Linked DNA regions of Homo sapiens: region 1 is linked to region 2. Evidence: promoter capture Hi-C in human tissues and cell types (Jung and others, 2019). All regions are on one chromosome and are shown on one strand. The core of a region is centred on a gene start or on the middle of the fragment in contact, and the rest is flanking DNA. Distances in the headings are between cores, read along the strand shown. Region 1 has its middle 46 kb from the start of ZNF626. Region 2 holds the start of ZNF66 (zinc finger protein 66).

Evidence for each region. Contacts are between HindIII fragments. The study calls those that stand out against the background at their distance.
Region 1: a contact is called between a fragment that was not itself captured here and the fragment with the promoter of ZNF66 in region 2, in 3 of the 25 tissues and cell types used here (H1 embryonic stem cells, mesendoderm cells and thymus).

The regions. Positions count from the first base shown.
Region 1 is chr19:20,704,376-20,709,899 of GRCh38, forward strand. No RefSeq gene overlaps it. Among named protein-coding and RNA genes, the nearest start is that of ZNF626, 46 kb to the left of the region's middle. The HindIII fragment of the contact is 7,019 bases long and covers 39-5,524 here.
Region 2 is chr19:20,772,982-20,779,004 of GRCh38, forward strand. ZNF66 (zinc finger protein 66) reads left to right here and starts at 3,323. Exons shown (of 4, transcript NM_001355197.2): 1 at 3,323-3,469. The coding sequence starts at 3,467. The HindIII fragment of the contact is 10,177 bases long and covers 1,378-6,023 here.

The sequences.
Region 1 (5,524 bases), core at 2,298-4,797, 68 kb before region 2:
CTGGCATGTCTGAAGGTTCCTAGCTGGATGGACAGAACCCCATGGGCTATTTTGAATAGACACTGAATTTAAAACACCTTGGTGGCCAGTAATGAGGATATTTTCACATTTAGCAAAACGTGATTTGATGTGTGGCTTGGAGTTGATAAATCTTCACTGAGGTAATGGCTGATTGGATTTACCCGGCCTGAATGGAAAATAAAATAAAAATCACCTCTGACCTATTCTTCTTTGTGGTCTTTTTTATGCACACAGATATATATATATATAGATAGATATAAGATAGGTGGCTAGATAAACATATACACAGAAAATGGGTAACACAGGTATGTCAGTGTAATTTCCATTATTGCATATGTCCTGCAGAGAAGCCTGAGAATAAGTAGGTCAGACGCCATTTTTCTTCCCAACTTCTTCACACCACGTGAATTTAATGAGCCACTTAGATCAGCGTAGATGGATATAAGTCAATTAGCTAAATTGGGAAAGTGAAGGCATCCAGGCAGGACCCAAATGGCAAATATGAATCACATTGGCATACGGTGAGAAAGGAAGCAGGGCCCTGAAATGCTAAGCTGGAACTAGAGTCTTATATGGCTTTACCAAAAACATACTTCCCGGGTCATGCACCTAAAAGTGAAGGTTTGTTCATGTTTAAACATAACATTGTATGGCTGTGGTCCAATCTGAGATGGTATGGATCCGTATAGGTGAGAGTAAGTTTATATCTGCATCCTCAATGTAGGCTGGGGAACTTAAAATGTTTGTTAAGGCCGGGCGCGGTGGCTCACACCTGTAATCCCAGCACTTTGGGAGGCCGACGTGGGCGGATCACGAGGTCAGGAGATCGAGACCATCCTGGCTAACACAGTGAAACCCCGTCTGTACTAAAAATACAAAAAAATTAGCCGGGCGTAGTGGCGGGAGCCTGTAGTGCCAGCTACTCGGGAGGCTGAGGCAGGAGAATGGCGTGAACCTGGGAGGCGGAGCTTGCAGTGAGCCGAGATCACACCACTGCCCTCCAGGGTGGGCGACACAGGGAGACTCCATCTAAAAAAAAAAAAAGTTTGTTTATTAATATCTTTTGTACAAATAAATATCTACGTAGGCAAACCCACATAATTCTATATGTGTGTGTTTATCTGTCTACCCATGTATGTCTATATACAGATCTAGCTATCATTTTTTCCATATGAATACAGAGTAAAGATATAGGAGGTAAAAGGATAAATAGGTATTTGTACTTATAGCAATGTAAAGAAAAACTTCAATGACTGCAAAATCTTATTTGCCCCTTAAATTTTATCCATAAGAGTACACAAATGGAGGTATACTCTGACCTGCATCTTGCTGCATTTGATGTTTTCAAAGAAAGAATTGGTTTTTGTTGCTCACAATCTGTTAGCAAAAGTGCACTAAGGCCATCGAGTCATTTATTGCCAAGTCAAACATGGCCTTTTTAATTCTGGTGAATGGGAAAATATGGATAAACTAGCCTTAGCTTGAAAGCCTTAATCCAAATTTGCAAATGAGAAATAATTCTCTTTAAAGCTTCCCTCAATTTTAGAGCTTTTATTTTCAAATATGTGACATAGAAATAGAATCTTCTTCTCTTTCTTTCTTTCTTTTCTTTTTTTTTTGAGACAGAGTCTCACTCTGTCACCCAGGCTGGAGTGCAGTGGCACGATCTCAGCTCACTGTAACCTCCGCCTTCCAGGCTCAAGCAGTTCTTCTGCCTCAGCCTCCTGGGTAGCTGAGTTTAAAACCACATACGCCACCGCGCCTGGCTAATTCTTGTATTTTTAGCAGAGATGGGGTTTCACCATGTTGGTCAGGCTGGTCTCCAATTTCTGACCTTGTGATCTGCCCACTTCAGCCTCCCAAAGTGCTAGGATTACAGGCATGAGATACTGTTTCCGGCTTTTTTTTTTTTTTTTTTTTTTTTTTTTTTGCAGAGTTTCACTCTTGTTGCGGAGGCTGGAGTGCAATGGCAACATCTTGACTCACTAAAACCTCTACCTCCCAGGTTCAAGTGATTCTCGTGCCTCAGCCTCCCGAGTAGCTGGGATTACAGGCACCCAACAACACACCTGGCTAAATTTGTATTTTTAGTAGAGACGGGGTTTCTCCATGTGGGTCAGCCTGGTCTTCAACTCCTGACCTCAGGTGATCTGCCTGCCTCAGCCTCCCAAACTGCTGGGATTACAGATGTGAGCCACAGTGCCTGGCAGAAATAGAATCTTATCATATTGTTGTGTTTGCTCAAGTAGTAACATTTTGGGTAAGAAAATTAAACAAGAGGTCTCTGACTTTAAGATGGACTGCTATACTGAAAGCAAATTTCAGGGTGTTTTCAGATGCTTTTTTCTTTGGATTTAGATACAGATATAACATATGTAGCTAGAGAAATATATACAGCCAGGTGCAGTGGCTCATGCCTGTAATTCCAGCACTTTGGGAGGCCAAGGCAGGTCCTTCACTTGAAGCCAGGAGTTCAAGACCAGCCAAGCCAACATAGCGACACCCCATCTCTACTAAAAATACAAAAATTAGCTGGGCATGGTGAGACCAGCTGAGCCAACATGGCAAAATCCCGTCTCCACTAAAAATACAAAACTTAGTTGAGCATGGTAGTACACACCTGCAATCCCAGATACTAGGTAGGCTGAGGCATGAGAATTGCTTCAACATGGGAGGTGGAAGTTTCAGTGAACCATGATCACACCACTTCACTCCGGCTTGGGTGACAAAATGAGACTCTGTCTCAAAAAGAAAAAAAAAAAAAATACAAAGACCCAGGGTCATAGAAACATATAGAGACATACATATGTAACCTGAATTTGTGACTATGTTTTATAACATCTCACAAATGTAAAGTAAGTCAGAGGTTATGTCCGTACTCATGCTCCTCAAGATAGATGAATGCGATTCCATGAGGCAAATTTAATAAGCCAATGAGCTCAAGTCAGCTGTTTTCAATCAGCCAATTAGCTGAGCCCAGGCGATTCCTATTAGCCAATTAGCTCAGCGCAAGTGATTCCATTAGGCCAATTATGTCAGCTTAGGCAATTACAATCAGTAAATTTGCTCAGCCCAGGTGATTACATTTCGCCAATTGACTCAATCCAGGTGATTCCAATCAGTAATTCGCTCAGCCTAGGTGACTTTAAACAGCCAATTAGCTCAGCCTTAACAATTTCAATCAGTCAATGAGATCAGCCCAGGTGACTCTAATTGGCCAATTAACTCAGCCTCAGTGATCCTAATCAGAAAGCTCAGCTCATGTAATTTTATTTTACTTTTTTGACGGAGTCTCTCACTCTGTCGTCCAGGCTGGAATGCAATGGCATGATCTCGGCTCACTGCAACCTCCACCTCCCGGGTTCAAGGGATTCCCCTGCCTCAGCCTCCCAAGTAGCTGGGATTACAGGCATGTGCCACCACACCCAGCTAATTTTGTATTTTTAGTAGAGACAAGGTTTCTCCATGTTGTGCAGGCTGGTCTTGCACTCCCGAGCTCAGGTGATCCACCTGCCTCGGCCTCCCAAGGTGCTGGGATTACAGGCATGAGCCACCGCACCTGGCTAGCTCATGTGATTTTAATCGGGAAATTAGCTAGAGAAATTCTAGAGAATCCAATCAGCCAGTTAGTTAGAACTGTGATTCCAATGAGTCAATTAGTTCAGTTCAGAAGTATCTAATTAACCAATTAGCTCAGGTTAGTTGATTTCAATAAGACAAATAGTTCTGCACAGGTGGATCAAATCAGCCAATAATCTAAATAGTGACTGTAGATTCATTAGATCAGAATGGCAGATTTAAACAGCATTTTTCTACACTGAGAAGAAAAGCAGGGCCCAAAGACTCTAATCTGGTCATAAAGCATTACATTGCTGTATTGTCAGCTTGTTTCCAAGACCTTGCCTTTGACAGTGAAGCTTTGTTTATGTAAACATCATTGTATGTCTGTGTTCCATTATGGATTTCTATTGTGCCATAAAGTAGACTAGTAAGTCCACATCTGCATTCTTAGTATATACTAAGGTATTAAAAATGTCATTTGCTGAAATCTTGTATATTAATAAACATTTATGTAATTATAATTATATAATTCTGTACGTGTGTGTTTATCTACCTACATCCAGATGTATCCAGGTTTGTACCTATATTCACAAAAAATAAAGATGTAGAAGGTGAAAGTGTTGATCGTAATTGATATCAATAGTAATATACAAAGATAATTCCATAGAGGTATAAAATTTTCTGCCGTATGAAATATACCTAGAATGCTACTCAAATGGATGTATGCTATTACCTAAATCTATCATCATTTAACTTATACAAAGTAAGCATAGTTTTTTTTTTTTAATGGAGTCTTGCTCTGTCACCAGGCTGGAGTGCAGTGGTGCTATGATCTTGGTTCACTGCAATCTCCGCCTCCTGGGTTCCAGTGATTCAACTGCCTCAGCCTCCTGAGTAGCTGCGACTACAGGTGCCTGCCAACAGGTCTGGCTAATTTTTGTATTTTTACTTAGAGGCAAGGTTTCACCATGTTGGTCAATCTGGTCTCAAACTCCTGACCTCTGGTGATCAGCCCACTTCAGCCTTCCAAAGTACTGGGATTACAGGCGTGAGCCACCGCGCCTGGCCAGACACTTTCTTCTGTAGATTTGGAAACAGATATAAGACACATATGGCTGGGCATGGTGGCTCACACCTGTAATCCCAGCACTTTGGGAGGCCGAGGCAGGCAGATCATTTGAGATAGGGAATTCAAGACCAGCCTGGCCAACATGGAGAAACCTTGTCTCTACTAAAAGTACAAAAAAATTAGGTGGGCATTGTGGCACATGCCTGTAATCCTGGTTACTCAGGAGGCTGAGGCAGGAGAATCACTTGAACCCAGGAGGCAGAGGTTGCAGTGAGCTGAGATCATGCCATTGCACTCCAGCCTGGGCAGCAAGAATGAAACTCTATTTTAAAAAAAAAAAAGACATGTATATAGGAAAACATAAACAAACACAAAGGCTTATATACATATGTCTAATTAATGCCTATTTGTGAGTATGTCTTGACAAAAAGCCCCAAAAGAAAAGTATGTAAAAGGTTATTACCTTACTCATTCTCCTCAAGACACAATCAATGAACTCAGCCCATGTGACCCTAGTCAGCCAGTTAGCTCAGCCCAGGTGATTACAATCAGCCAATTAAACGAGCCCATGTGATACCAATTAGTCAATTATATCATAAAGGTTAATACAATTAGCCAATTAGATTAGCCCAAGGTGATTCCAATCAGCCAATTAAATGAGCCCAGGTGATACCAATTAGCCAATTATATCAGTATTGGTGTGTTGGTGTGATCAGACCCAACACCGGGTTGTGGGGGTGACAAAGTCCAGTGGAGTCAAAGGATTGAGAAAAAGTTTGAGAGAGAAAAGTGGGACCAGGGGGCCATTGCTAGTGTATGGAGGCTGCGAAGGCCCCGAGCTCTGGGATGCCATGCTATTTATTGGTAATCCAA
Region 2 (6,023 bases), core at 2,073-4,572:
AGCTACTTGGGAGGCAGAGGCCAGAAGAATCACTTGAACCGTGGAGATGGAGGTGGCAGTGAGCTGAGATTGCACCACTGCACTTCAATTTGGTGACAGGGCTGGATTCCATCTCAAAAACAAAAAACAACAACAAAAAAACATGGAACACAGTGACGATGGGAGTATGCACCAGGATTCAGATACCTTACCAATATTGTTTTCCCCAAACCTCTTTATTCCGCATTAACCATTTGTTTCATTGCCACTTGGGCACCCAGGTAGTAAGACCATTTGCTACTGACAAAGAGTTGATATAAAAGTAACAAATCCCTCTGGCCTCCTCCTGAATAGCTCGGAGAAACGACTACTAGTTCAGCTAACTGGCTGCTCCCACCCCTTCCTTCATCAGAAATGCTTATGTTTTTAACAGGATTATAAGCCACAGCCCTCCAGCATTGGGTCCCACCAAAGTATTTGGTGGATCCATCAGTAAACCAAGCATGTTTCTGATCCTCTGGGCTTAGTTCTTTAAAGGATTTGCCCCATTTGATGTGTGTGTGTGGGGGGTGTTTCTTTCCCTATCTGCAGGACTTGCTTGGTTGTTTCCTGAGCTCGCAGGTTTTCCACATCCTCATGTAAAAGTGATAGCCCCTATGATTTTGGCTTAGCCTGGTTTTGTATGTCCCATTTCCATTTTATGATGCTACTTTCTGGGCATGCCCTATCTGGTGGGTTTTGGGGGAACTCATGACCAAAGTCATAATAGAAATTTCAGGCCTCATAAAGACATCGTGGTTGAAGCAGAGGTGTTCCATTTCCAGCAAAGCTCAATAGCAAGCTAACAATTGCTTCTCAAAAGAGGAATAAGCTTTTCCAGCCTCTGGCAGTTTCTGGGTCCAAAACATGAAAAGTACCCTCTTTCCATCTTGTTTCTGCCTAAGGCTCCAATTAGCATGTTGATCTACGACAGTTACTCGCAGTTCATCAGGCCCATCCCATATAGGCCATAGATCCAGGGCCAGTTGCACTGCTTGTTTAGCTTGTTCAAAAGCCATGCTGTCTTTCTCTCCACAGTGAGAGTCATACCTTTTTCTAGTGGCTGCATTCAGATGTTGTAAAATGTTACCCAAGTAAGGAATATGATGTGTTCAGAATCCAAACAAGTCAATACATTTCTGGGCCTCCTTCTTAGTGGTAGGGGTTGCAAATTATAGTATTTTAGCCTTAGCCTTTGGTGAAGTGGACTGTTTCTTTGCATTCCATAGGATGCCAAAGAATTTTACACTTTGTGCGGATCCTTAATTTTACTAGGCTTAATTTCCCATTTTTGAGATAGGAACTGGGTTTTTACATGCTCTAAGCCCCGGCTGACTAGTTCTTCAGTTTTACCCTGATTGGGCCACCTGGACAGCTGCTTTTTTCAGCAATAGGCTGATAGCTTTGAGCCTGATCAGTCAAGACATTGACTGGCATTGGGCCAGGGCCAGTCCGGAAGTCAGATTAGCATTTTCCTTTTCCAGCTTATATTTCTCTTGTAGCAACCAGCCCCTATCTTGACACATTAACTTATAAGCAGCAATCAAACACTATCCACTTTGTGAGATTCCCTCAGCATCTCCTTTGGTGACTGGAATCCCCTGCAGCACTTCACGCACAGTCAAAGGTTTAAATTGCACTAATTTAGATTCCCAATTCCCACAAAGGCCAGTTCCCCTGAACCATTCAATCACAAAGAAGGAGAACTGGGAGTGATCCCATCTCAGGATATGGGAAATCCTTGAGCCTCCAGCCCTATCCTTCTGGTCAAAAAGGGGCCCACTTTTGTTTTCAAATCCTGTTTGTGATGCCAAAAATGTTCTGTATGGGAAACGTGGGAGAGGAGAAGAAAAGACATACATACAATAACTTTAATGGTAAACAAGCTTTAACCCACATCAATATCAATGCAGACAGAATAAACTAATGATATAATAAGCAAATGATATAATAAGCAAATAAATATAATACACAGATTGATATAATAAGCAAATTGCAGTAAGAAGAGGAGATGGGAAAAGATATATATATATATTTACCCTCACTAGACTATGGAGGATTACCAACTGAGTAGGAAGAAACAGCCCAGGCTCCAGAGTCGGCCACCCATTCATGCACAGACAAGGAGTCTCATGAAGCTTCAGGGTGGTCTGGGACCCTAGCTCTTTTGTAACGAGTTGTTTGGCATAAGGCCCAGTGAGGAGGGCCATTTGGGACTTGCCTCACGGAACACAAAAGGGTCAAGTTGTTTTTGTGATTGTCTATTGTTTTTCAACAACTAATGTATAGTAATAGAATGAAATAGACATTTCTTTGATACAGCTCTGGATGAACACCTCAGGGGCTCACAACCAGGACCTGTTCTGGGACTTGGTGACCATTGTGTCCACGTTCAATTGAGTTCAAATTTAACATTTAACTTTTCCTCCATAAATTCTCCTGTCTTCATGAATTGGCTCTGTCTAGGCAAAGGGCAAAATGAACCCCTTGGGCTGTTACATAACCTCCACCTCCTGGGTTCAAGTGATTCTCCTGCCTCAGCCTCCGGAGTAGCTGGGACCACAGATGTGCACCACCATACCCAGCTAATTTTTTACATTGTGAGTAGAGATGGGGTTTCACCATGTTGGCCAGGCTAGTCTTGAACTCCTGACCTCAAGTGATCCACCCACCTTGGCCTCCCAAAGTGTTGGGATTACTGGCATGAGCTACCTGTGCCTGACCCTAAATTATTTCTATCTCTTATAGCAGTTTGAAATTACTTAAAGGTTGTTTCAAGTTGAAAAAATAAGAAGAATGTGGATAAAAATAAAATATAAATAGATAAAAAAATTACAGGGATTACAAAATATATATGTAAATCTGGAGTGGTCAAAAATGACAAATTTGATTTATTTATAAGGTTTTATTAAAATTAGCTTTAATCGTTAATACACTATTACCAAAGTAAAAGCTGATTTTCTCTTGAACAAAAATTTTATGTATTATTAATATGACAGCAAAATACTTCTGTTCACCTTTGAATACATTCAACAAGACAGAGAGTAAAAAAGAGATAAAATGTTCCCATGCTCTGGCATGGACCAGGCTCAGCTCTGGGAGGAAGCCCTGCCTGAAAAGGCTGCAGCTTAGGCTGTCACTCTTTTCTTCACTCCGCCCAGCAGCTGATCACATCTTCTGTCACTCAGTGTCTGAGGGGGCGGGACCTTAAGCATTAGCCAATCAGAGGCGCTGGGCTGGAAACCGTCCAATCAGGCACGCAGCTGGAATGAACAGGACGGCTTCCGGATTTGGCGGGGTCTTTGTCTCTCCCTGCAGCTGGAGCTCCAGGTCGTCTGTTCACTGCTCTCTGTCTTCTTCTCCTAGAGGCCCAGCCTCTGTGGCCCTGTGTCCTGCAGGTATTGGGAGATCCACAGCTAAGACGCCAGGACCCCCTGGAAGCCTAGAAATGGTGAGAGTGCCGGTCCAGCATCCCGAGAGAGGTGAAGTGTCTGTGGCGGGACTCAGGCCTCCCCTCAGTCAGCTCCACAATCTGCACCCCGAATTCTCCTTACCCAGCTCTGCCTCAGTCCCATTCAGCCATAAGATGGCGGCTACGCTGACAGCCTGGCCCCCGGGCGTCCTGTCGCTTCCCCGCGCAGTGACTGTGCCCCTGGCCTGGAGCGCTCTGTGGGCAGCTCTGCACCCGCAGTGCCGTGTCTCTCCCAGATTGTGCAGGGACCACCGGAGGGTCTTCAGGGGAGAATGCTGACTCGCGGTGCGGGTTCATGAATGGGAAGAGCTTTGGTCTGTGGGGTTCACAGTTTCTCTTTTCTGCTATTAAAATTGTATGGGGCCGGGCGCGGTCGTTCAAGCCTGTAATCCCCGCACGTTGGGAGGCCGAGGCGGGCGGATCACTTGAGGTCAGGAGTTGAAGACCAGACTGACCAAAATGGGGAAACCCCTTGTCTACTAAAAATACAAAAATTAGGTGGATATGTTGGCGAATGTCTGTAGTCCCAGCTTCTCGGGAGGCAGAAGTGAGAGAATCGCTTGAACCCGGGAGGCGGAGGTTGCAGTGAGCTGAAATCCTGCCACTGCACTCCAGCCTGGGCGACAGAGCAAGACTCTTGTCTAAAAAAAAAAAAAAAAAAAAAAAATTATGGGAGTCACTGCAAAAATATCAAACAATTTAATCAAAGAGTGATTCAAGAATTGTAGAGCACCCAGCTATAGTTTGTAGTTTGTGGTCCATGGGAGAGGCTTGAAGAAAAGACATTTATAAAATGCATGATGAGGAAAACCAAATTCAATAATTTGTTAGGTTTAGTAATGTAGTTTCTTAATTTGTACAATCAAGGTGGAAATTTCCTGGTTATGTAATTAGAGCTTAATTGGCAGTTTATAGTTGCTGAAGCCTGAATTTTGTTTCCCCTAATGTAGTAATTTGCCAAAAAATGCACTTGAGCTTAGATTTTTTTTTTTTTTTTTTTTTAGAAATAGAAATCCGGGGACTAGAGCCTCTTCAGTCTAATTGCCTGCCACTTAATTATTTTCACATCCCACAGGGGACTGACTTTCCCTGGCATTTTTCACATGTGTCCCAAGCAGGGCCTCAAGTGTCCCCCATGTTCCTCAATTAATTATTATTATTATTATTATTTTTTGAGACGGAGTCTTGCTCTGTCGCCAGGCTAGAGTGCAGTGTCAGATCTTGGCTCACTGCAACCTCCACCTCATGGGTTCAAGCGATTCTCCTGCTTCAGCCTCTCCAGTAGTTGGGACTACAGGCAAGCGCCACCACTCCCAGCTAGTTTTCATATTTTTAGTAGAGATGAGGTTTCACCATGTTTGCCAGGAATGCTAGTTACCAAGGAAAAATATAGGGAAAATCTCTCTTCCATTTTGGCTGTAGACAATGAATATATTTCCACAGGAAAATGTGGTAGATAATTGAGGAGTTACATGGATTCATCAACACATTAGTTCCTCTTTTTGCAGGGTAAATTTTTTCTATATCCTTTTATTTTGATTTCTGAGTTAAATGCTAAATTTTAAGTGATGAAACATGGTACCTTCTAGAAGTGTTCCCATATGACTAATTTTTTACTACATTATTTTATTTATTTACTTATTTTTTTGAAACAGAGTCTCACTCCGTCACCAGGTTGGAGTGCAGTGGCGTGATCTCGGCTCACGCAACCTCTGCCTCCCAGGTTCAAGCAGTTCTCCTGCCTCAGCCTCCCAAGTAGCTGGGATTACAGGTGTGTGTCACCACGTCCAGCCAATTTTTTTGTGTTTTTAGTAGAGACAGGGTTTCACCATGTTGGCCAAAATGTTCTCAATCTTCTGACCTCGTGATCTACCCACCTTGGCCTTCCAAAGTGTTGGGATTAGAGGCGTGAGCCACAGTGCCCGGCCTACTGCATTATTTTTAAGATAAATAATAAAATAATACATACATTGTCTGAAAGAAGTAGATATATATGCTTTTCTTATAGGGGTATAAAATGCAAGCATCTTAGCCAGGTGCAGTGGCTCATGCCTGTAGTTTCAGCACTTTGGGAGGCCTAGACAGGTTGATTACTTGAGGTCAGGAATTTGAGACCAGCCTGCCCAACATGGTGAAACTCATCTCTACTAAAAATACAAAAGTTAGCCAGGTGTGGTGGCATATGCCTGTATTCCCAGCTACTTGGGAGGCTGAGGAACAAGAATGTCTTGAACCCGGGAGGTGGAGGTTGCAGTGAGCCGAGATCATGCCACTGAACTCCAGCCTGGGCCACAGAGTGAGACTTCGTCTCAAAAAAAAAAAAAAAAAAGTAAGAACCTTAAAATTTCCTTCCCTTATGTAAACACTGCGTTTGAGTAATTTCCCTGGATTTTTCAAACACATAGTTTCAAAAACTAAGTGAGTAATTCTGACATGGAAATTAAAGCTTGAACCTAGTGACTCCAAGCTAAGGCTAATAATTAAGCCTGCAACTGGATATTGAAGACTCAGTTAGTTTTTTCTGGGGAGCCTC